Linked DNA regions of Homo sapiens: region 2 is linked to region 1. Evidence: promoter capture Hi-C in human tissues and cell types (Jung and others, 2019). All regions are on one chromosome and are shown on one strand. Each heading gives the region's core, a stretch centred on a gene start or on the middle of the fragment in contact. The rest is flanking DNA. Distances are from core to core; before and after follow the strand shown.

Region 1 (4,895 bases), core at 1,683-4,182:
TCCCCCTCACCTTCTTCAAGTATGTTTTGTGAAATAACATGGAATAGGTTAGGATCTTGTTAATGGTGCAGTGCTGGTAGAAGAGGCCAATTCCTTCATAAAAGGTAAGGACAAAAGAAAGCCAAAATCAAAAAGTCTAGGAATTAGAATTCTAGGCCTATGTGGTCTGATATGGTAGCCACTAGCCACATGTGGCTACTGAGCACTTGAGATGTGCCACATGCAACTGAAGGGCTGGATTATTTCATTTAATTTTAATTAATATAAACAAATTTAAAAACTGATCATTTGATTTTATTGTTGGAAAGCTAAGTATGTATATAACAACGTAGGCTTGTAAATCTATTTCCTCAACCAAAACGTTATGAAATCTAAATACACACTGAATATTTCCAATGAAAATGTAGTGTTTGCATGTAGATGTGCAATACACATAAAATATAACCAGAGTTGGAAGACTTAGTAGGAAAAAATGTAAAATATCTTATCGTTGATTTTTCATATTGACACACGCTGAAATGATATTTTAGATATACTGTGTTAAATAAAATATATCATTACAATTACTTTCACCTGTTTCTTTATATTGATTTTTTTTTTTAAACGTGGCTCACGGAAAATTTTTAATTACATATTATATTTCCATTGGTTCTCCACTGTAAACGTTTAATGTTACTGGGGATACTGCTGGAGAGGGACTACCCTAGCCCAGAGCTTCATTCATCACTCACCCTCTCCTACTGCTAGAAAGTCACTCCAGGCCGTTTTCCAACCCTCTCTTTCCTCATTGCTGTTTTAATGTTATTAACTTTGGTGAATACTGACCTCCCCTCACCCTTACCCTCTTCCAGCATTCTCCCCTCCTCGGGCCTACTCCACTCTTCTCTCTTCCATCCGGCTTTTGAAAATCCATCTTCTACTACGAATAAGCTTCCTCTTCGCTCCCCATTCCCCAGGCTCTTTCCTTCACACCACCTTCTCTGAGTCTTTCTAACCATCCCTGTCTGTTTAAACTGCTCCGTTAGAGGCCAAGTTTTGTTTCCTGCGCCCTTTCTCAGTGTCCCTGTACCTCCGGTTGGATTTCTAGGAAACAGACTCTGCACAGAGATGGAGATGGTATGTGGGAGGTCTCCTGGGACGTGCTCTTGGGAACAACACCTTGAGAGAGTGAGGGAAACAGGATTCGGCAGAGAATGAACTTTAACTGTGCTGCTTTCCACAGAGGCCTCGGCGGATCCCTTGGGAAGCTATGGAGCTGGGGTGGCCCTTCAGGGCCCTCCGTAATGGAAGCAAAGAGGTGAACCTTTGTATCTCCCCATCAACCAATTGGATCCGAGATACAGATGCCCCGCCCCAAGGAGTGGCAACCTGGTTTATATAAGCCACCACTCAAATAGTTATCTTGAACTAGCCCAGAGATCTCCTTCTTTCTAAATCTAAACCTATTTTCTTGGGCGCCCTCCTCCGTGGTGTCCCTGCAGCCCGGGCCCCGGCCCCCATTGAACCTCCCTCTTCTCCTGAGTCCTGACACCCCGCACAGTCCTGACCTTCCCTTATGGTTTCTCCTGATAGTTTCCGTTCCTTTCATGGGCTCCTTCTCGGTAGACCTAGATTCTGTCTTCAGCCCTGTTCTCTGTACCTTTTCTACCCTCTCCCTCCACCTCTTGTGTCGGCCCAACTTCTTTCCAGATGATTCCAAAATTGACATCCCTTGCCTCAGTCTCTCCTATGAACTCCAGAATCACCCTTCCAATTGCATTTGCTGGATATCTGCCCCTGGAAGAAGGTGGCCTGCTTCTCCAATCCAACTTGCTCCACACTAAACTCAGTCACATCACTCCAGGTTCTCCTCCAGACTTCCACAATGTTACAGCCCCAGTGTGCTCCTCCTACACCACACAGTCTGTAGACTCTCCTTTGCTGCAGCTTCCGCATTCATCCCCCAGTTAAGGTCCTCATCTCACGGGACTATTGGAATCATCTCCTTCCTGTGTGGCCCCCCGCGAAGCCCTTCTCAGCAGCCAGCTGGGGTATTTAGAACGTTGGTGCTCCCGGTACAGTGGCTTTGTCAGCGTCCCCTGCCTCCAGTGGCTTCCCTGATCTAGCAACCTGGTAAATGGGTAATCTTCCTCACTGCAGCTAAGTTTCAAAAGAACACGGTTGGATAAGCACAAGGCCCTTGTTACTTTGGGAAATAGATAATCCATGCCCCACTGTTAGGGCCAGTCCCGTTAGGGCCAGCTTTGCACCTTCACAGGGACTCAGCAGGAACAGATGGGCTCTACTCTCTGTTATTCCTTTTTGCTTCAGATTAGAGAGACCTTGATTCTCCCCGGGGCCCAGGAAATGTAAAGCTGATGCTCCACAGGACTCTAAGAGGGACACGGCAGTGATGGGGGCTGGTGAGGAAGGGGGATGGAGAACCTCTCTCTTATCAGACAGGCTTGTCCCTAGGGTCCCTGGAAACCCCCAAAGGCCAACCTCTCCCAGGGGCCGACAAACGTAAAGGGCAGGGAGACCTAAGCGGGGAGCTGCGGAGCGCGGGGAGTTTGAAAGCCGCTCCACCGCCCTACTAGTCCGTCCTTTTGCCCCGCCCCCCTTAGGGATCCCCCCGGCAACCGCACAGCTGCCTCGGACTCTGACTTAATTCCCTCCGCGTGCTCTGAATCGCAGAGAGGCAAACCCCCAAACAAAGAGCCGGCAGCTCGCGTGCGGGGCTCCCGGGCGCGTCCTGCCGGCTGGGCTGGGAGAGCCGGCGCCGGGGCGTCGCGGCCGAGCGCTGGGCAGGCGGGGACTAGAGGGCCGGCAGGAAGCCTCAGTGGGCGCAGGGGCGCGGGCCGGGCTGCCCACACGCTGACCTTCCCGGGCTGGGAGGGAGGAGCGCTGGCTGCGGGCGGTGGGCGGCTGGGCGGCCCCGGGAGCCGCCGCTCTCAGTCTCTCTAGGCGCAGCTCCCTTCGCCGCTTCCGGAGCCCCTGGCAGGGTAAGTGCAGAAGCGCGCCCGAGGAGTGGGGGCGCCGCGGGAGGGGGCTGGGGGTCCAGGAGAGGCGCCTCCACCTCCGCTGCCCGCCCCGCCGGCAGTCCCGAGCTAGACTGTCCCGAGCTTCCCCCGGGCGGGCAGAGGGAAGCCGGCTGGGGATGAGGAGTGGAGGAGGCAGGAATGCCTGGGACACTCGCGGGGCATGTGAGCAGGTATTGGTGTCTGCATGGGACACGCAACACGGTGTCCATAACTATGCGCATGAGTCTGCCTTTCTGCACTTGTGCCTTGGGAGAGAGCTCTGGGCCTCTGAGGGCCTCGTGCCGTCCAGCGTGCCCGGGGCATGTCTGTTCCTCTTGAAAATGTCATTCTTTGTCCACCCTGAATTCGAGTAGCTGCCTCTCATGGCTACACCAAAATGCTGTATCTGGTGCACATTGCTTTCAGAGGGCCTGTCTGCCTGTGCAGGGATGTCCTCATGTTCTGGGCACGTCTGTGTATTTGTGACAACATGGCTGTGTAGGCCCTGTCACCTGTGTTTTCGTGCCCATCCCTGCATGTGCAGTTGGCCGGCTCCGTGTGGAAAGAAGGCATGGAAGGTTCTGGGGTGTATCCTTTTCACCAGCCATATGTGCAGTGTGCACATGTGTGAATTGGTGGAAAGTATGAAAGGGAGGCAGCCCAGTTGGGCTTGGCGGGACAGCATCTTAACTTGAGTCTAAGCTGCTGTGTGCAGGAGGAATAAGTGTTCCAGAGGTCTCCAGTTCGTGGCAAGTATTGTGAGGTGAGCGTGGGGGTGGGGGGTGAGGAGAAGAGGCAGCTTCTGGAAAAACTCATAAGTGCACTCTGGGGCATAGGGTGTGTGTGGGGGAGCGTGAAGAAGAGAATGAGGGTGGTATTAGGCCAAAGTGGATAGTCTGTGTTCAATTTGTGGGCAGCTGGATTGCAGTGGAAAGCAGCAGTTAGAGGCTGGAGACAGGTTTGAATCAGAACTTAATGGTTGTCACTGTGTCAGTAGCATTGTTCCCTGGACAGATAGGTCATCTGGGGCTCAGTTGCTTTTTGTGCAAAATGGGACTAATAACCACTGGCCCCATCTGTCTCCCAAGGGACTGGAGGCTCCAATTAATGCCTGGAAATGCTTTGATGATAGTTAAGACTCCTAGGGTAAGGGGCACTACTGGCCTACAGGGGCCAAGTTGGTGGTCTGGCGAGGGCTTAGGTGGCCCAGAGCTGTTTGGTTTGTGGGTAGCAGAGGGAGGCATTTGTGTGCTGTTTCCCACTATATTCAGCATAGCAGGAATTTTATACCCACCTTTGGACTCGTGTGTAAAATATGTACAGGCCTGTGTGATTCCCCATAGTTCTTGTGTGAGTGCTGCAGAACAAGAGGAAAACTGGCGTTGATGTCTTTAAGTCTGCCTAGAGCACCTTGACTTTCCAGAGAGCCTTTCTTCAGATGAGCCCAGGACATTTATAACCACCAACTTGCTTTTCTTTTTATGCCGCCAAATGAAGCAGTAAGGAGCACCCTTCACAGTTTGTAGCCAGGGAGATAGGAGATGAAGAAGCTTTCCCAGCCAAGGTCACAGGCCTGGGGTGTCCACCACCAAGTTCTATCTCTTGGGTTACAGTGCCTTCAGACCCAGGGCCAACGCTGGACTGGGCTGAAGAAGGAGGGAGGCATCAAAAGTCATGCACAGACGGCACCGAATTCCAGGATGTAGTTGGGTGGTTTGTCCACCCTCGGATGTCACCTGTCACTGAGACTTCTTTGTATGTGATAGCTGTTTAGTAGTGTTTGTAAAAGGAAAGATCCTTGGATGGGAGATGCCGGCAACCCAGGTCAGGTCCCGGCTCAGCTCCCTGCCTGGGGAAGGTCACATCACCTCTCTGGGTCTGCTTCTTCTTTGGTCC
Region 2 (5,118 bases), core at 774-3,273, 130 kb after region 1:
AAACCATGCATTTGGCCACCTGGAATGGAGAACATGTTTTCCACCCCCCTTGCAGCTAGGTGTGGCCACGTAACTAAGTTCTGACCAAGCAGTGGAAGGTAGAGTCCCATATGGCACTTTCAAGAAGTATTCTTAAAGAGCAAGGGCACATGCATTTCTATCCTGCCTGTCTTCTTCGTGACTAGAATGAAACACGATGCCTGGGGCTAAACAGTGATCTTAAACCATCAGGAGGAAGTGATATATTAAAAGGCGGAAGAGCCAAAAGATAGAAAGAACCTAGATCACTTATGCTAGCAGAGCTATTCATCATTTTGCACAGTTTACCTTCAGACTTTGTTCATAAGGGGGCAAGGGAGTGTGAGTTTTCTATCACAGGCAAACCCAATCCTGAGGGATTGACTTAATCTATCAACATTGCTGTGAGGATTTAAGGAGATAATATAAAATCCTTAGCAGTTTTTCTGGCATGAAGTCAGAGGGCAACTTTTTCTTTTTTCTCAAAAGTAATGAAATATTAAGGCTATTGAAACTTGGTTCTGAGAACACTGAAAGATATGGAAAGACCATAGAACCTGTTTCCACATTGGCCAGAATGGACTGACATTACATCTTTGAAGTCGGTCATAATCAGAATGTTTTTCACTGCTTCTAAATTGTATGCACTATTGGATAAAACTGGAACAGTACATGGCCAGGCACAGTGGCTCATGCCTGTAATCCCAGCACTCTGGGAGGCCAAGGCAGGCGGATCACGAGGTCAGGAGATCGAGACCATCCTGGCTAACACAGTGAAACCCTGTTTCTACTAAAAATACAAAAAAAAAATGAGCCGGGCATGATGGCGGGTGCCTGTAGTCCCAGCTACTCGGGAGGCTGAGGTAAAAGAATGGCGTGAACCCAGGAGGCAGAGCTTGCAGTGAGCAGAGATCACGCCACTGCACTCCAGCCTGGGCAACAGAGAGAGACTCTGAATCAAAAAAAAAAAAAAAACCAAAAAAACAAAAAACTATAACAGTACTGACTCCATGTTAGAGAAAAGCTTGTTTGCTTGAATACAGTTATTGCTTTTCCTGAGACTGTAGATTATTCATTAAAAACAGCCTCAGAAATACAGGATCTTCAGCAGACATAAAAGAAAAAACACTGACAAACAACTCTGGGAATGGGCTAAGTGGCTTGATAAGAATAGCCTGATGGTACCTGCAGAAGGTCATACAACATTGACCAAGAAAACAGTGATTGCCTGCCTGCCTGCCTGAGACTTCACATGTTTCATAAGAATGCTCTGATCAGCCAGGTACAGTGGTTCAGACTGGTATTCCTAGCACTTCACGAAGCTGAGGTAGGAGGATTGCTGGAGGCCAGGAGGATGAAACCAGCCTGTGCAGAAAAGCGAGACCCTGCCTATACACAAACAAAAATAATAATAATAATAAATAATAATAATAGCTAGGTATGGTGGTGCATGCCTGTCATCTTATCTACTCAGGAGGATCACTTGAGTCCAGGAGGTCAAGGCTGCACTGAGCCAAGATAACATCACTGCACTCCAGCCTGGGTGACAAAGTGAGACCCTGTGTCTAAAAAGAGAGAGAGAAAAAAAGCTAAGGCTATTTTCAGGTTAGGTCAGGCTTAGTAACAAAAACTTTTTGTGAAATGCTTCGATCATTGTTTGCCCTGCTCCTAATTTCCCTTAAAACCTCCCGGATCAGACAGGTGGTCTTTGAAGATGAGTTCACAGCCTCCCTCGAGTTTTTGGCTTCCTGAATGTAGCTAACTTTCCCTTTCACCAACATTTGTCTCTAGACTTTTGGCTTTCAAGCAACAAGTGGCCTAGATCTGGGTTTGGTTACAAATTTTGGCAAGCCCAGCCAGAAGCCGTGTGCTCTGGGCTGTTTGCACCCTGTCAGCTCCCAACAGACAAAGCAATTGGTCACAGCTTCATACCAGGACTAACTCATCCATATTGTTGGGAGGACTTCTTGGTTCCCAAGAGGTGGAGCAATTGATGGCGGCAGCAGGTCAGGGCTAACTCATTCACATTACCAGAGGTTAGCGGCAAATGCTCTGTGGCACTGGCTACTCATGGCAGAAGGGAACTGCAGAGACAGCCCCAAAGTCTGCCAAAGAGAGGCTGCCAAAACTCTTTCTACTTCAGGGAAACTTCCTCCTTTCCCCCATTCAGTACTGACTGCCTACTTTTGCTTTTAGTTGGTGAAAGGAAACTAGCTTTATTTTTTTTATTTTAATTTTTTTTGAGATGGAGTCTCGCTCTGTCACCCAAGCTGGTGTGCAGGGGCGCAATCTCGGCTCACTGCAAGCTCTGCCTCCTGGGTTCATGCCATTCTCCTGCCTCAGCATCCTAGGAGTAGCTGGGACTACAGGCGCCCGCCACCATGCCCGGCTAATTTTTGTATTTTCAGTAGAGACGGGGTTTCACCTTGTTAGCCAGGATGGTCTCCATCTCCTGACCTCGTGATCCGCCCGCCTTGGCCTCCCAAAGTGCTGGGAAACTAGCTTTTTGGATGAGCTGATGAGCTGTACAACCAGGTAAGTCTACTGGGGTGCAAAGTAGTAGTCCACTTTCTTTACCATTTGGGCCTTTGGACCATTTGTGGTACCACTGGTAGAAGAAATGACTCATAGTGACTCCATACCAGTCTCTTCCTTTGTGAAAGCCTGGGTTGGAAAAGTGCTTCATTTGTTTTGGTTGTGTTTTGTTTGTGTCCACCATGGGAAGTTTTTTTCATCAGTCCCCTCTCAGAGCCCACTGTGGTTCATATTGGCTGACTGGTAAGCCTACAGTGATAACCCTACGACAAAAAAGATAATCTACTGCAATAAGGTGTGGTCAATGTACGTGATACATGAGGAAGATAGGTGGCCATTACATGGTTCTTTGAATTTAATGTTATACAGCTTGAACATTTCAATCTGAGATCAGGAAATTGGGACTGCATACCTTATATTCAAGCTTTTATGTTGGTACATAATAAGCACGCTTCCCAGAAAGGTTGCTGGCTGATGGTGCAAACAGGACCATATCAGGTAAAATCTCCTCACTCTCCATTACCTGAGGAGGAAAAGAAGGAGATAGGATAATCTTGTCAACTATAAACCCTCCACAGGCAAATGATGCTGAGGCTTTGCAGGTGCCTGTCCCATTGCAGCCTGCTCTGGCACCTGTGCAGGCTCCCATGGAGGCCCCAGCTGCAGTACCAGCACAGTACCCTGAGTTGCCCCATCTCTGCCCCCTCCACCAGAGGATTATCCAGATAATACAGACTTACAGGGTGTGGTGGCCCCTCCTCATTTTAAAGGTAGCCAAGAAATAGGCTCCCCTTTTAAGACCTGACAAGGCAACTAAATTTGACCACAGCGTACACCCTCATGCGGCAGAACAATTTCTGTTATGCAAATTCCCCGCTGGAGGATTAAATGCACAGGGCCATACTCCTGGGCTATTTTGGTTATTCACCATTTTCTATCTTTGACTAAGTAAATGGAAAAATATTCAAGTCCATCCTATAGGGATGATCCATAGGAGATGACTGAAATATTCACCAGTATTTTTTCTATTCATCATTCCACAATAGCAGGTGTACAAGCATTATTAAATTTTATGATGAAAGGGGGTTATTTTTAGACAAGACTAATGATGGAGCCAGAAGGCTATACCAGGAAGACCCTGCTGGGTCCTCCAACATCCCAGAGGCAATTTCCTTAGTGAAACGCAAATGAAACCTTAATAATGAGGTTATATCTTGACTGTAGGATTACTCCTAAGAAAGGGAGTACCTAAGCAGCAAAGCCTCAATAAAAAACATCCATGACCTCTGGTAGGAGGCCAGTGAAAACCCAGCAGCTTGGTTGAAACAAGTGTAACAGGCTTACAGAAAATATTCAGATATTGATCCAGAGGCTCTGGAACATGTTTGGGTCATAAATATAACTTTCATCAGCCAAAGTGCTTCTGACATTAACAGAAAATTAGAAAAGCAGGAAGGGACTGTTGGAATGAACCCTTCCCAGTTTACAGATATTGCTTACAAAGACTTCAATGCTAGAGAAACAAGAAAAGCTAGACAGGCAACCATTTTCATGGAGACTGTTCAAAAAGGTGGAAGAATGAGGGGTGAAATAGAAAGGAATCCCTAGACAAGGACCAGTGTGCCTACAGTGGGGAAATCTGGACATGAGAAGTATGCCCCCCTAAGCTACAGAGAAAAGATGGTAATAAAAAAGACAAGGGAGAGGAAAAGGGAAATATACGCCAAAGAAGGAGATGGTGGAGCAGGATTGTGACTCTGATGAAGACTGATGGGGCACAGGGACTCCGCCTGATTTAACAGAGCAACAGTAATTTCCCTACAGGAGCCCTGGGTACAAGCGACAGTGGGGAACAAAATGACTGGCTTATTGGTTGATACTGTAGCAATGTTTCCAGCCAAGGCTGGAGTCACTGGGAAGTTACAACAGAGACTCTTTCTTAAGCCCTAAGAATATAAATTGAGGGATATAAGATTGAGGTATAGCTTTCTGTATATGCCACATTGCCCTATTCCATTGTTGGGCCAAGATTTGTTATGTAAATTAAATGCCCAAGTCACTTTTGCTCCTGAGAAACAACATCTAAGAATCCAGGTATCACCCAAACATGTCCTATGCCTACAGGCACTGGTGATTCAGCCAGAGAAAAGAACTCAAGAACCATTCCTGCTGGAAGTCTACAACAGAGGGAGTTGCACTGTTTGGGAAGACAAGGGAACCTGAACTAGCAGTCAAAGCTCAGCCTGTGCACGTTGAATTTAAAAAAGCATTAATTCCACATAAAAACAACACTGCTTAAAAGGTAAAGAATTAGAAGTCATACAGGGGGATTACACAGGTTTCTAAAGCACAGACTTATTCAATCATGACAGTCTCAATACAATACCACTATCTTGCCAGTGAAGAAACCAAACTCCAATTAGTATCAATTTGTGCAAATTTGAGAGCTATTAATGACATCGTTCAAGATACCCACCCAATCGTGGCTAACCCATATACCCCACTTACAGCTACCCCAGGGGATTATGGCTGGTTCTCAGCATAGGAATTAAAGGATGCTTTTGT

Evidence for each region. Contacts are between HindIII fragments. The study calls those that stand out against the background at their distance.
Region 2: a contact is called between a fragment that was not itself captured here and the fragment with the promoter of TSPAN11 in region 1, in 2 of the 25 tissues and cell types used here (H1 embryonic stem cells and mesenchymal stem cells).

What each region holds. Positions count from the first base shown.
Region 1 is chr12:30,923,816-30,928,710 of GRCh38, forward strand. TSPAN11 (tetraspanin 11) reads left to right here and starts at 2,933. Exons shown (of 8, transcript NM_001370302.1): 1 at 2,933-2,981. LOC124902911 (a long non-coding RNA gene) reads right to left here and starts at 2,874. Exons shown (of 2, transcript XR_007063264.1): 1 at 1-2,874. The HindIII fragment of the contact is 5,500 bases long and covers 145-4,895 here.
Region 2 is chr12:31,057,695-31,062,812 of GRCh38, forward strand. DDX11-AS1 (DDX11 antisense RNA 1) reads right to left here. Exons shown (of 3, transcript NR_038927.2): 2 at 2,966-3,076. Among named protein-coding and RNA genes, the nearest start is that of DDX11-AS1, 14 kb to the right of the region's middle. The HindIII fragment of the contact is 4,210 bases long and covers 1-4,128 here.